3 separate regions of the Homo sapiens genome follow, and all the other regions are linked to region 1. The links are contacts of gene promoters, found by promoter capture Hi-C in blood cells and fetal thymus (Javierre and others, 2016). All regions are on one chromosome and are shown on one strand. The core of a region is centred on a gene start or on the middle of the fragment in contact, and the rest is flanking DNA. Distances in the headings are between cores, read along the strand shown.

Region 1 (3,677 bases), core at 510-3,009:
GTTGGGGACGGTCAAACAAGGCTGCCGGCTCCCAAGGGGCTAGAGTCCACTCCTGATAATAGAAGGCGGCTGAACACTGACACTTCACTGAGGATAATGGAGACAGCAAAGGCTTAGTGGGAAAGGGCCAGTTGTCACCTAAGTGACAGGCAACAGCTGAGCTCACACATCTGGAGCCGGACTACGGCAAACATTAGCAACCCTCACCAGTCTACACCTTGGGCCTGTCTGAAAAGACAGATGGAAGTTCCCTCTACTCCTAAAGTACATTAAAAAATGTCTGATGGTGAACCACATCAATTATATAACATCAACTGCAGGCACAGCCTTCCAAAGTACTGATTAAGACGAGGCAGTAGACAACACTGTATGCATGAACAGATACAAGATACCATTTCAGTGATTTGTCATTCATAAAACTTATCCTAAAAGACACATATACATGCATCCATTTGATAGCACAAATGCATGTTAACTCTGCAGGAGAGGCAGATTTTTACATGTTTTTTTGGTTGTAGTTGTTGGTGCTTTTTTTTTTTCCTTTAGGCTGGTTCCCGTGGTGTGTTTGCCTTGTTCATGGTCTCAGTTCTGCCGCTGATACCCTTTTAAAAATCAGCAACCAAACGCGTTCGGCTTGTGATCCTGAACCCTCCTTAGGCAAGCTGGAACTAAGCGTGATGCAGCCGTCCTCCCTCTCTCCCAACCCCCAACCTCGTTCTTCAGCCTCCTGAAGACAATCTGTGAACAATTTTCCCAAAGTCCCAAGAATAACACAGCACTGCCAATAGTCACTGGCGATGCCGTTTGTTTTTCTTAGAGGGTAATGAAAATTTAACAGCTTTCTGCTGCATCCTGAGTCCCGCTCCTAATAACTATTAACATGCCTAGTTTCTTCAACTTTTTCTACCTCAAGAGAGGAAGACGCTCCCATTTTTTCCCTATATCTGTGCTACATTCAGCAAACACCATCGCGGGGCAGGGGGTTGGGGAGAGTGGTGGGAGTTGATTCGCCTCTGCCAAAAAGCCACCAGCCCCTTTCCCCAGCGCTAGAGGAGAGAATCGGTACCCTCCCTCCGGACGCCAGTAGGTGACAGGCGATCCTAAGCGGCGGGAACACGCCAACGCACCCTCGCCTCCCGGCGCCCCGCATCGCCTCGACCCTCGGGCTACAGAACCTGTTTCCACGCCGGAGAAAACCAAGGGAAGAGTTGGTTGTGATGCAGCAAACAGGAGCCATGCGGAGAGCCTCTGCGGAGCCCTGGCGATGCTGCAGCCAATATCTGCTTTCCCTGTCTACACAGCCCAACAAACCGATTATGACCTTCTCCCTGATCTTCTGCGACACCGACCCAGTCTGGGTGTCACAGACTCCGGCGGTGCCAGCGAAGGTGCCCGGCCCTACCCCTGCGGCGCTCGCCCCCCACCACCGCGCCGCAGCCCCCTCTGCGGAATCCGCCGGGATCCAGGCTGCCACTCACCTCGCGCGAGGGAGACGCAACTCGGCTGCACTGTCCTCGGCGCCGCTGCGGGGCTGCTGGGCTGCGGGGCTGCGGGGCTGAGGAGCTGCGGTCCGCGGCGTCAGGGGTGGGCGAGGGTGAGCAGCGCACGAACCATCCAGAGCCCAGAAAGTCTCCGTGCCGACCGCGGCGCGTCTCGGGGAAGTCAGCGCAGGCTGCGCGAGGCTGGCATGTTCCGGGCGCGCTGTCGGGCGGCGGCGGCCGCGGGAGACGGCGCTGGCAGCTGGGCTGCAGGCGGAGTGCGCTCGGGCTCCGGAGCCGCGCGCTGCGGCGCCGCCGCGCACCCCGCCCTCGGCCGCGGGGCCCGGCGCGAGCGAAAACGCGGAGCGCGGACGCCGCCGCGGGATCGAGGCCGCTGGGCGCGCGCCCACGCGTACCCCGGCTCGGCCCTGAAAGCGAGGTCGGGCCCGGCTCGGGCCGCGCCCGGGGGCAGGGCTGCGAGCAGGCCTGGGACCGGCTCCACGCGCAGCCAGTGGGGCAGAGCAGCAGGCGGATTATGCGCAGGGAGAAAAAAGTTCACCAACCGCGGTCCAGAGTCGCAAGTGCGGCTCGCTCGGAGCCTCTGCCCCGCCCCCGATTATAAGCCTTTTTTTTTTTTTTTTTTTAACCAACAATCCCGATGGACTGAAACACAGGAAGAGTGAAGGGACGGGGTGGGGGGTGGGGGAGAGACAAACCCAATTTCCTCTGATCAAACGATTTGGGTAGGGGTGCCTATTTGAGTTCCTTCTCCTTCGGGGGGTGTGTGAAGGGGGCAGTTAATTAAACACTTAGATTCCTTCCGGCGCGCCTTGCCGAGCTGGGGACCCGTTTGGACTCGATCCTGTCTCGTGTAATCCCACAGGCTGGTCTGAGTCTCTGCCCCGGAACCGGAGGAGTGATCTTTCAGAGCAAGAAGCCAAAGTTCAGCCTCTAGTCCGTTCCCTTCCCCGCCTCGACGGCCCTGGTCGTCTCCATGAAAACTCAGTGTGGGGGATCGTGCCCGCGAAAACCTCAGCCCACCGCAATGTCCAGAGCCTGACCCAAGTGAACGTGGCGCACTTAAAAGCGGGTTCAAAGCATTGATCCGAACACGGTGACAATTTTTCACTGGCCAAACTACTCTCCACATTTTCAGTCTGCTCAATTCCCAGAGCTGGGCTCTCAGGCGCACTCACCCACGTTGAACTGGGGCTCAGCCTGTTTGAAAGTTCTGCCCTGACATTTGTGTCACACTAAACCTTAGAACCCCCCACCCTCTCCAGTTCCGGATCGGTGGAGTCTCACCGTGTGGGTACTATTTCCCTGGACTGCAGAGGGCAGACACAGGCGGCAGCTGTTAACCCGAACTTGACAGGTGCCTCTGCAAAGCCAGGGCTTCCTTGACCTCTCCATCCTCTCCACAACGCTCTAGGATACTGTATCATCTTCCAGGAAGATGAGGATGTGTGTGGGGGGAGTGTGGAGGGAGGTGTTGACTGATGCAATTTTTATCCTTTTAAGAAAAATCAAAACTGCCAGTCTCAGAATTTCTCAGAACATCAAGTCTTTTCGATTTTCGTTGGGAATAAAGCAAAGGAATACTCAGCAAAAATGGAGCCGATGAAAAGAGAATGCAAGGAAATAAAGGCAAATGGAGGAGGAAACTGTCTAAATCCAGGAAAATGTATGGCTTCAGCACTGTGCTCTATAATTCTGACTCAGATCTCCCCACGCTGTAGATACTTTCTCCTGTCTAGATGCCCAGGCAGAGTTCCTGAGCTCAGATCACTCAGGAAACAAGGCTGTTGCTTTTGAAATAATTCCACTTGCTAGCGTTGTTTTTTTTTTTTTTTTTTTTTTTTTTTTTTTTTGAGACGGAGTTTCGCTCTTGTCACACAGGCTGGAGTGCAGTGGCGCGATCTCCGCTCACTGCAACCTCCGCCCCGCCCCCGTGTTGAAGCGATTCTCCTTCCTCAACCTCCCGAGTAGCTGGGATTACAGGCACCTGCCACCGCGCCCAGGTAATTTTTGTATTTTTAGTAGAGACAGTTTCCCCATGTTGGCCAGGCTGGTCTCGAACTCCTGACCTCAGGTGACGAGAATCTGGGAAAGAACAAACCAGGTTTTCTTGCCCCTCAGCATTTTATTGGAATTGGCCTTTGAAGTTGTGTCTGTTTATCTTGCTGGGGTTACAAATGC
Region 2 (3,677 bases), core at 785-3,284, 1.4 Mb before region 1:
TTGGCCTATTTCATTACTCAGTTTCACTTTACATGCCCTCATTTTGGAACTTCCTATTCTCTGTGGACAACGTTTTTGACATCTGCTTTACTTTAATAATAAAAATGTTATGCATCCTGGAATTAGTCATAACATAATTTGCTCATGCTCCTTACTTTTGCTATAGGAATTGCATGGGTATACCAAGGATATCATATGAACTTTTTTTTTTTCCAAGTAACTGAAGTCTCATGGTCCTAACAGTCTCATGTCTCAAAATAATATTTTTGGATTCCATCTCTTCTCTCTCTTTTTAAAAATGCTGTCAGTGTCATTGTGTTTACTGTAAAACCAATAAATGTCAAGCTATAGCTATAACTGTATATGCATGGTTATAATTATAAATGTTTATAGCTGTAAGTCACAACTTTTTCTATAGCTAAAAAAAGGAATAGATTTCTCCTGCCCAGAAGTATTTTAATAAATTCTAGAACATGTATTTCCAGTTTATGCAATTCACAAAAATATTTTCATGCTGTTAATATTAAATGATTTCTTATTTAATCAGTAATTCATTGTTTGCTTATTTATTTGTAGAAAGACAGGTCGAAAGAGGGGGGAAATTTGGAACATAGGGGCAAATGTTACTTTATCACATATGAATCTATATATATTAAATGAGAAATATAGCATCTTATTTTGAAAAAGAGTTTAAAAGCATATCAAACATCTAGCACACCAATCATCACTGGTTATTGAACAACTAACAAAATCTCATCTTTCAAACAGCAAGAAGGCTCAGAAGGTTATTAGCCTCTATTATTAGTCTTTGCTAATTCTTCAGTTAGCTCCAAGGATTTAAAAGACAAAGTCTGGAGCTGTTCTCATCAATTCCAACTGATGCCATTTGGTGTCATAGAGAATTACAAGCTTTCCAGGAACAAGGCTCAACTGGCAGCAAGGAATCATCAATGATTAATTTATAAAACCCACCCAAGCATCTGGTGGCAGCTTCAGGATAATGGCAGTAAGTGATATGCAGCCAGGTGACAGGATCTCTGCATTCCTAAGGTTCAGAAGATGGTAAAGGAAGTGGAGTAAGAAGGGTTTGGAATGACGCCCTACTGCGTGTTTTCAGGACGGCTTGTCATGCTACACAATTTGAGGAGTCAAACTAGGAGGGGAGGCAATTTGGATCCAAAGGGTTCATTCAGGGTAAGTAGAAGGAAGCAGCCACTAAGATTTTATTTATATGTTATTTCACTGCTTTCTTTCATCATCCTTCCCTTTAATTTTCCCTTCCAGGTTCCCAAATGATCACATTCCCGTCCCCAGTAGTAAAACGCCCGTGGAAGTAGAAGATGGATGCTGTGGCAACTGAACCTGGAGTCAGACTCAGAATCCCAGCTTCCTCACTCGGGAGGAGGCCTTGCATGGCTGTTCATGGGCTCCCTAAGAAGGCAGTGTCCTGAGGCGGGCCCTTGACTTTTTCCCCATCTTTGCTGCTAGGTCAAGGATCGCGCCATTCTAACTCACCTGATTTCTGGATCACGGTTTGAGAAGCCTGGCCCTGTGGATTTCCTAGTGTTATTTTCCTTATAGTGATTTCCTAAGGTCACAGTTTCCTAACTTCTGATTTTGTAGTTTTGATGTGAAAGAACAAAAGTGCTTCGATTTCAAACATATTGGAGATAGACTCGACGCCGGGCGGGCCATGGGCATTCAGCGGAAAACCAGACAGACAAAAAGATTCTGCTCTCCCGAAGCTTACATTGTGGTGAATTTAAAAGTTGTTTCTCAACATTAGCGCTTTACCCATCAGCAGCCCTGCCCAGGGCGAGGCGCCTCGATGCTTGAAGTTCACTGTTCAGGCGAAGGAGAACACAGTGTTCCCAAGGACCATTGTAAGCTGGGCGGCCAAAATTTGAAAGAACATAAATCGCAGGGCAACGAAGGAGGCGGGGGTCTCTGGAGGTTACTTCTATTAGCGTCAATACGGGCGAAATCAGGGGACCTAGCAGGAGCCTGAAAACTTCAAGCCAAACAAACAGTGAGATCACACCTCCCACCCGCCACCTCCCTCCACTGCCGCCGCCGCGAGACGGCTGCCCCGGGGGTGGCCCGGGGAAGGCAGGGGGGCTCGGAGAAGACGGACTCTGCTTTCGCTCCCCCTTTCTTCCCCATCCCTAACATGGGCTTTGCCCTGGAGCGCTTCGCAGAAGCCGTGGACCCGGCTCTGGAGTGCAAACTGTGCGGCCAGGTGCTTGAAGAGCCCCTGTGCACGCCGTGCGGGCACGTCTTCTGCGCCAGCTGCCTGTTGCCCTGGGCGGTGCGGAGGCGCCGGTGCCCGCTGCAGTGCCAGCCCTTGGCGCCCGGCGAGCTGTACCGGGTGCTGCCGCTGCGCAGCCTCATCCAGAAGCTGCGAGTCCAGTGCGACTACCGCGCCCGCGGCTGCGGCCACTCGGTCAGGCTGCACGAGCTGGAGGCGCACGTCGAGCACTGCGACTTCGGCCCTGCCCGCCGGCTCCGCAGCCGCGGGGGCTGCGCTTCGGGGCTGGGCGGTGGTGAGGTGCCCGCGCGGGGGGGCTGCGGTCCGACACCCAGGGCTGGCCGGGGCGGGGGCGCGCGCGGGGGGCCGCCGGGCGGCCGCTGGGGCCGCGGGCGGGGACCCGGGCCTCGGGTCCTCGCCTGGAGGCGGCGCGAGAAGGCGCTGCTGGCGCAGCTCTGGGCGCTGCAGGGCGAGGTGCAGCTCACGGCGCGCAGGTACCAGGAGAAGTTCACCCAATACATGGCTCACGTCCGCAACTTCGTCGGCGACCTCGGTGGCGGCCACCGCAGGGTAAGCAAAGGGGGGTGGGCACCGCGGGCATGGTCGATTGGGGTGGGAAAAGGAGCGGTTCTTTCTGACGCTTCAGGATTCCTTTGGAATTGGGCATCCTTCCTCACTATGCAGCAGGAAACATCCACACCCTGATCATACTTTCCTGTCATTATCTTACGAATGGATTGGCGTCGAAGTTAAGGATTGTCCCTTTTCTGATTATATTACGATTGGAAAGAGTTAAACAGATTCGATTCTAACTTTCCCCCGGGAAAGTAGGAATTGTGAAAACTCATTTTCCATCCAGACTCTCGTTTTCCATCTTTCACCCTCCTGCCCACCGTCTCTGCCTATTTTTTGAGCACTTGTCCCGTGCCTGAAGCAAATCCGAGAAGGAAAGACAGAAAGCGAAGACTTTCCCGGCCCAGCCTTTCCTCTCCCGCGGCCACCAGCATCCCCGCGGCCCTGGCAGCCGCGCACGCACACCTGGGACTGGTGTCAGCGTTGATGACACTTGCGCTGCCACTGCCTGAATCAACTGCCTTCTATTAAGTTGGGGACTGTGAGGCACGTTGGGGCCAGGACAGCCTCAGGAGTTGAGAGATGGGGTTTCTTAGACTTGCAGAGTTCATTTCATCACTCTGACTTTCCCTAAATAAGCCTTCCTTGCCTCGGGATCTCATTATTGGTGGAGAGAGAGAGAGAGATTGAGATTGTGTGTGTGCGACCTGGGAAGTCCAGTCCGAGAACCTCCATCTGTGGTCAGACCGGCCCTGCGAGCCCCCAGGCAGCGGTTGTTTCCCTTCTTTGTCTAAGCTGCTGGCCCCGAACTGCGCTCCTGGTCCTCCCGCCGGCTTTCATACCGAATAAACAAGCC
Region 3 (3,677 bases), core at 345-2,844, 1.3 Mb before region 1:
CAGGCCTGTTTTCATTATTTTGATCTCATAAAAGATCTTTATATTTCAATACTGCACAGACAACAAATGATTTTGCAACATCATTTCTATGTTTATATAAGCCTCTACTATATAGAATATCTCAAAAAGCAATTCCTTTCTCTACCAAATAGAGTATTTTTTTTTTTGGAATGAAAGAATGGCAAAAAAAATTTAACTTGTTTCCTTAATTCACATAAACAATAAAAATCAAAGATTTTGTCTATGTCCATTCAATGAATTACTTACTTTTTTCCCTCCACTAATATTTACTTTAAGAACATAAAATTCATAAATAAATAACCTCTTCTGGTTTTAAAGCCAAAGTGCCAATGATATGTGGTGAATCAGCCTAAAGTCAACTGGTAAAAATATTGTTTTCTTTGGTTATGAAAATTTCTAACTCAGTTGAGACATACAGATCAGGATCTTCAAATAAAATATTCTTAAATGGAATATGTATGAAATATACTTCACAGACCAAATATATTGATCCTAAAGTGACCTGTTTGACTTATTAATTTTAAAGCATCATTACTATAATGGCCCATTTATTGTATTAAATGAGTATTAAATCTTTGCAGCTACTTAAGACTGCTTTTAAGGGTCACGGATTTAATTGCCTCAATAAATATATACCTATACTATCAGTTATTTCTAACTTCTCAGGAGGCAAAGGCACTGGTGTGTTTAGTAAGTATAATTGACTCTTTTAGTAAGAAATGGATACACTTTTAAAGCACATGTATCAAGACTGCCAGAAAAAAATTTAAAACTTTATCGGCAGTTCAAAAGTTATAAAAATATTTGCCAAGCTTGAAAAACATTTCTATCTTTATTTTATAATAACATATTTACTTAGAAAGTGCTTTGTTTTCTTTCCCCTTTGTGGCATCGAATTGTCAATTAAAGGCCTTTAGAGTGACCATGGGATGAGTTGGTTAAGTTGCTGTCCAGGTGGGAGAACAGCAAAATAGATGCTGTTGGTTGTAACTCTGAATTTCCAGAAGTCACATTGAAGTCCTAATAATCAAAATATTTAGGAGGAAATTGAATTCTGCAATCAATGAGAACTATAGTCTTGGCAGTTCCTAAAAGGCGCATTTCCTTGTTGTTTTGCTTAAGCTTGTCTGGGCTTCATTTAGTAGTCTGCTTATGTTAAATTTAAGCAATCATGGGTATGGAAAATGAATAAAGTGTTGACTATCCATTTGGATCAATTTTATTCATTCAAAAATGTACATTTTAATAAAGTAATGTTAGGCACTATGGATAGAAATATCAAAGAGGCTCAGTTTCTTCTTCCAAAGTGTTCCTAAAGAAGGAAATAGACATAGAAGGAAAGCAAGTTATAATCCAGTTTCATAAGTACAGTAATGGAAGATTGCATAAGACAGTATGCTGGCAAGCGCAAGAATGATCAAACCTGGTTGTGGAGAGTGTCATGAAAGTCATTATAACCAAATCTGAAAATGCAGTTCCCCAGACGCTTAAAGAAGAAAAATGTATTCTGAAAAGAAGAAACAGTGAATTCAGGACAGAGAATGAAACAGTATAGCGTGATAGAAACTACAAGTAGCCTTAACTGTAACTTACATATAGGGCATCTCCCAGAGATGGGGGAAGTGATAAAGGGTGAAGCTAGTAAGGAACTTGTATGCTTGGAAGTTTTGACACTACTCTATAAATGATGTAGAAACCAATAAATGAAGTGTTTCATTAAAGAAAAAGTATATTCAGTCAGAAATTAGCAATTTTAGGAATTTTTATAATACCTAAAAAATGACTGAACATAAAATCTTATTTTTAATTGATAAAATATGTTTTCAGGTTTACCTGCAAAAACTATGGTTGATTTGCAAACATGTCTTATTATAGTAGAAAATTACCAAATGTATGCTATTTATCATTAAATTTACCTTCATGGCAGCAGATGCCAAAGAACTAGTTCAGCAATTATGCCTTAATGTCATCCCATTATCATTTATCATTTTTCTTAATGCATCAAGATCTAAAGTCCTTGAATGCAAGCTTGGTCAGCAACCATAGAAATATGGGGTTCATTTTGTCTTTACTTTGTCATAAAAGGGGTCTTGCCTTCTTCTATGTGGGACATGGCATTTAAGTTAAGTTCATATAACTTTTTAAGTAAGGACATTATATATTTTTTTCATTTTGTACTGGGATAACTACCTCACCAATAAGTGGTAGAATAAATTGTAGCCACATGTCAAAAAGTAGGTCATCCTAATGAGTGTGTGTAAAGCTGGTATTTTCCTTTTGAAAATGTCAGGGTTTTTAAAAAAACAGAACAGAAATATGTTTTATTAATAACCACTCTGTGTATTGTGTAGTTAAAATCTTTGACTATATAACCTCTTTCATACCAAGCATTATTTAAAATAATAAATCTTTCAAAATTTAAATAGATATGGCACAAAGGTGCAATTTGAAGGAATATATAGAGTTGATCATTATAAATGGAAAACGCTTAAAATGCTGAGCTTGTTTCTATGTTTAGTGAACACTTCCTAGTTTAAGCTAGAGAGAAGGATTGCCTGAATTAATGAAAGTTCCGAATTAGAAAATATTTTGGAAGCAAATATAGTACCATAGATGCTCAGGGATATTAGAAGCCATTTTTAAATACCAACTAAAGTCTATGTAACATTGACATTATCTCTACCTCTTGTATCCCTAGACACTACTGAAATACCTGAATCCATGGTGGAGAGCAGATCTCCCAAGACAGCCTGCTTCTTCTTCAGATGATTCCATTAGGAAAAGTTTTCTTATATTTTGCCAAATCTATCATAGCTAGCATTCCCTGGCTCAAACTTTGCCTGGTGTGTTCATGAAGTATACACCCTTGAAATATCTGAAGACAGTTAAAGATTAATTCCCTTCCTGTTTACTGAATCACTGGACTCGCCATTAGGGAAATGTGGTAGGAAAAAAATGCTCTGAAATCAGTCAAATATTTGCAAAGTCTCCCAGTGAATTATTATAGACAGAACAATTTTGGCTGACAGTATAATTAGGTAGATTCAGGCCCAAGAGCTCATTGGTGGGTCAGTGTCGGACTAGGCACCTGATGCATCTATGTAGTCCAGATGCTACAGGGATCAGTGCTTTAGACTAAGATGCTGAACATTTTAACTCATGAATAAGCTGAGAGGCTTGACTGGCATGGGATCAAACTGATGCCAGAAGCAACTCTGGAAGGGAGAGTGGATATGCCTAACGACAGTTATCCCAGGGAACTGTGTGGCTCATTTCCTCATTTAATTAAAGTCTCTGATAAAAAGTCCGTATTTCAGATAGCCTCTGTCTTACCACCTTATAAAATTAGCATTCTTCCCCATCATAACTCTCTTACTGGCTCATTTTTCTTCATAATGCTTACTACCACTTGTTGTATATTTATTTATCAGTTTACTTGAACTAACCCACTAGAATGTAAGTCCCAATATTTTATAGTTTTCATTGCCAAAAATTCAATCTTTCAGTTCTTTCCCATTAAGTGATTTTGAGGCCAAGTTGTTGGCAGGATTTTTGCAGTGGCCTGAATAACAAACTTAGAAGAAGTGAGCTCAGTGGAGTGACAGGGGAGGCAGGAAGGAAATAGATCCTCTCTGCTCCACATCTTTACACACTGC

The links. The method cuts DNA at HindIII sites, captures the fragments that hold promoters and counts their contacts. A CHiCAGO score of 5 or more calls a contact.
Region 2: the fragment with the promoter of PDZRN4 here is called in contact with the fragment with the promoter of PRICKLE1 in region 1 in 4 of 17 cell types (M1 macrophages, fetal thymus, total B cells and 1 more); the score reaches 7.0 in M1 macrophages.
Region 3: a fragment that was not itself captured here is called in contact with the fragment with the promoter of PRICKLE1 in region 1 in 1 of 17 cell types (total B cells); the score reaches 6.2 in total B cells.

Annotation. Positions count from the first base shown.
Region 1 is chr12:42,587,987-42,591,663 of GRCh38, forward strand. PRICKLE1 (prickle planar cell polarity protein 1) reads right to left here and starts at 1,760. Exons shown (of 8, transcript NM_153026.3): 1 at 1,479-1,760. RefSeq lists a silencer at 1,764-2,013 and an enhancer at 2,483-3,040. The HindIII fragment of the contact is 6,666 bases long and covers 1-3,677 here.
Region 2 is chr12:41,186,286-41,189,962 of GRCh38, forward strand. PDZRN4 (PDZ domain containing ring finger 4) reads left to right here and starts at 2,035. Exons shown (of 10, transcript NM_001164595.2): 1 at 2,035-2,818. The coding sequence starts at 2,171. It overlaps LOC124903069 (a long non-coding RNA gene), which reads right to left and starts at 1,947. Exons shown (of 2, transcript XR_007063563.1): 1 at 1,516-1,947; 2 at 1-1,045. The HindIII fragment of the contact is 2,373 bases long and covers 1,744-3,677 here.
Region 3 is chr12:41,271,904-41,275,580 of GRCh38, forward strand. All of the region lies in intron 3 of PDZRN4 (PDZ domain containing ring finger 4), which reads left to right. Among named protein-coding and RNA genes, the nearest start is that of PDZRN4, 85 kb to the left of the region's middle. The HindIII fragment of the contact is 906 bases long and covers 1,142-2,047 here.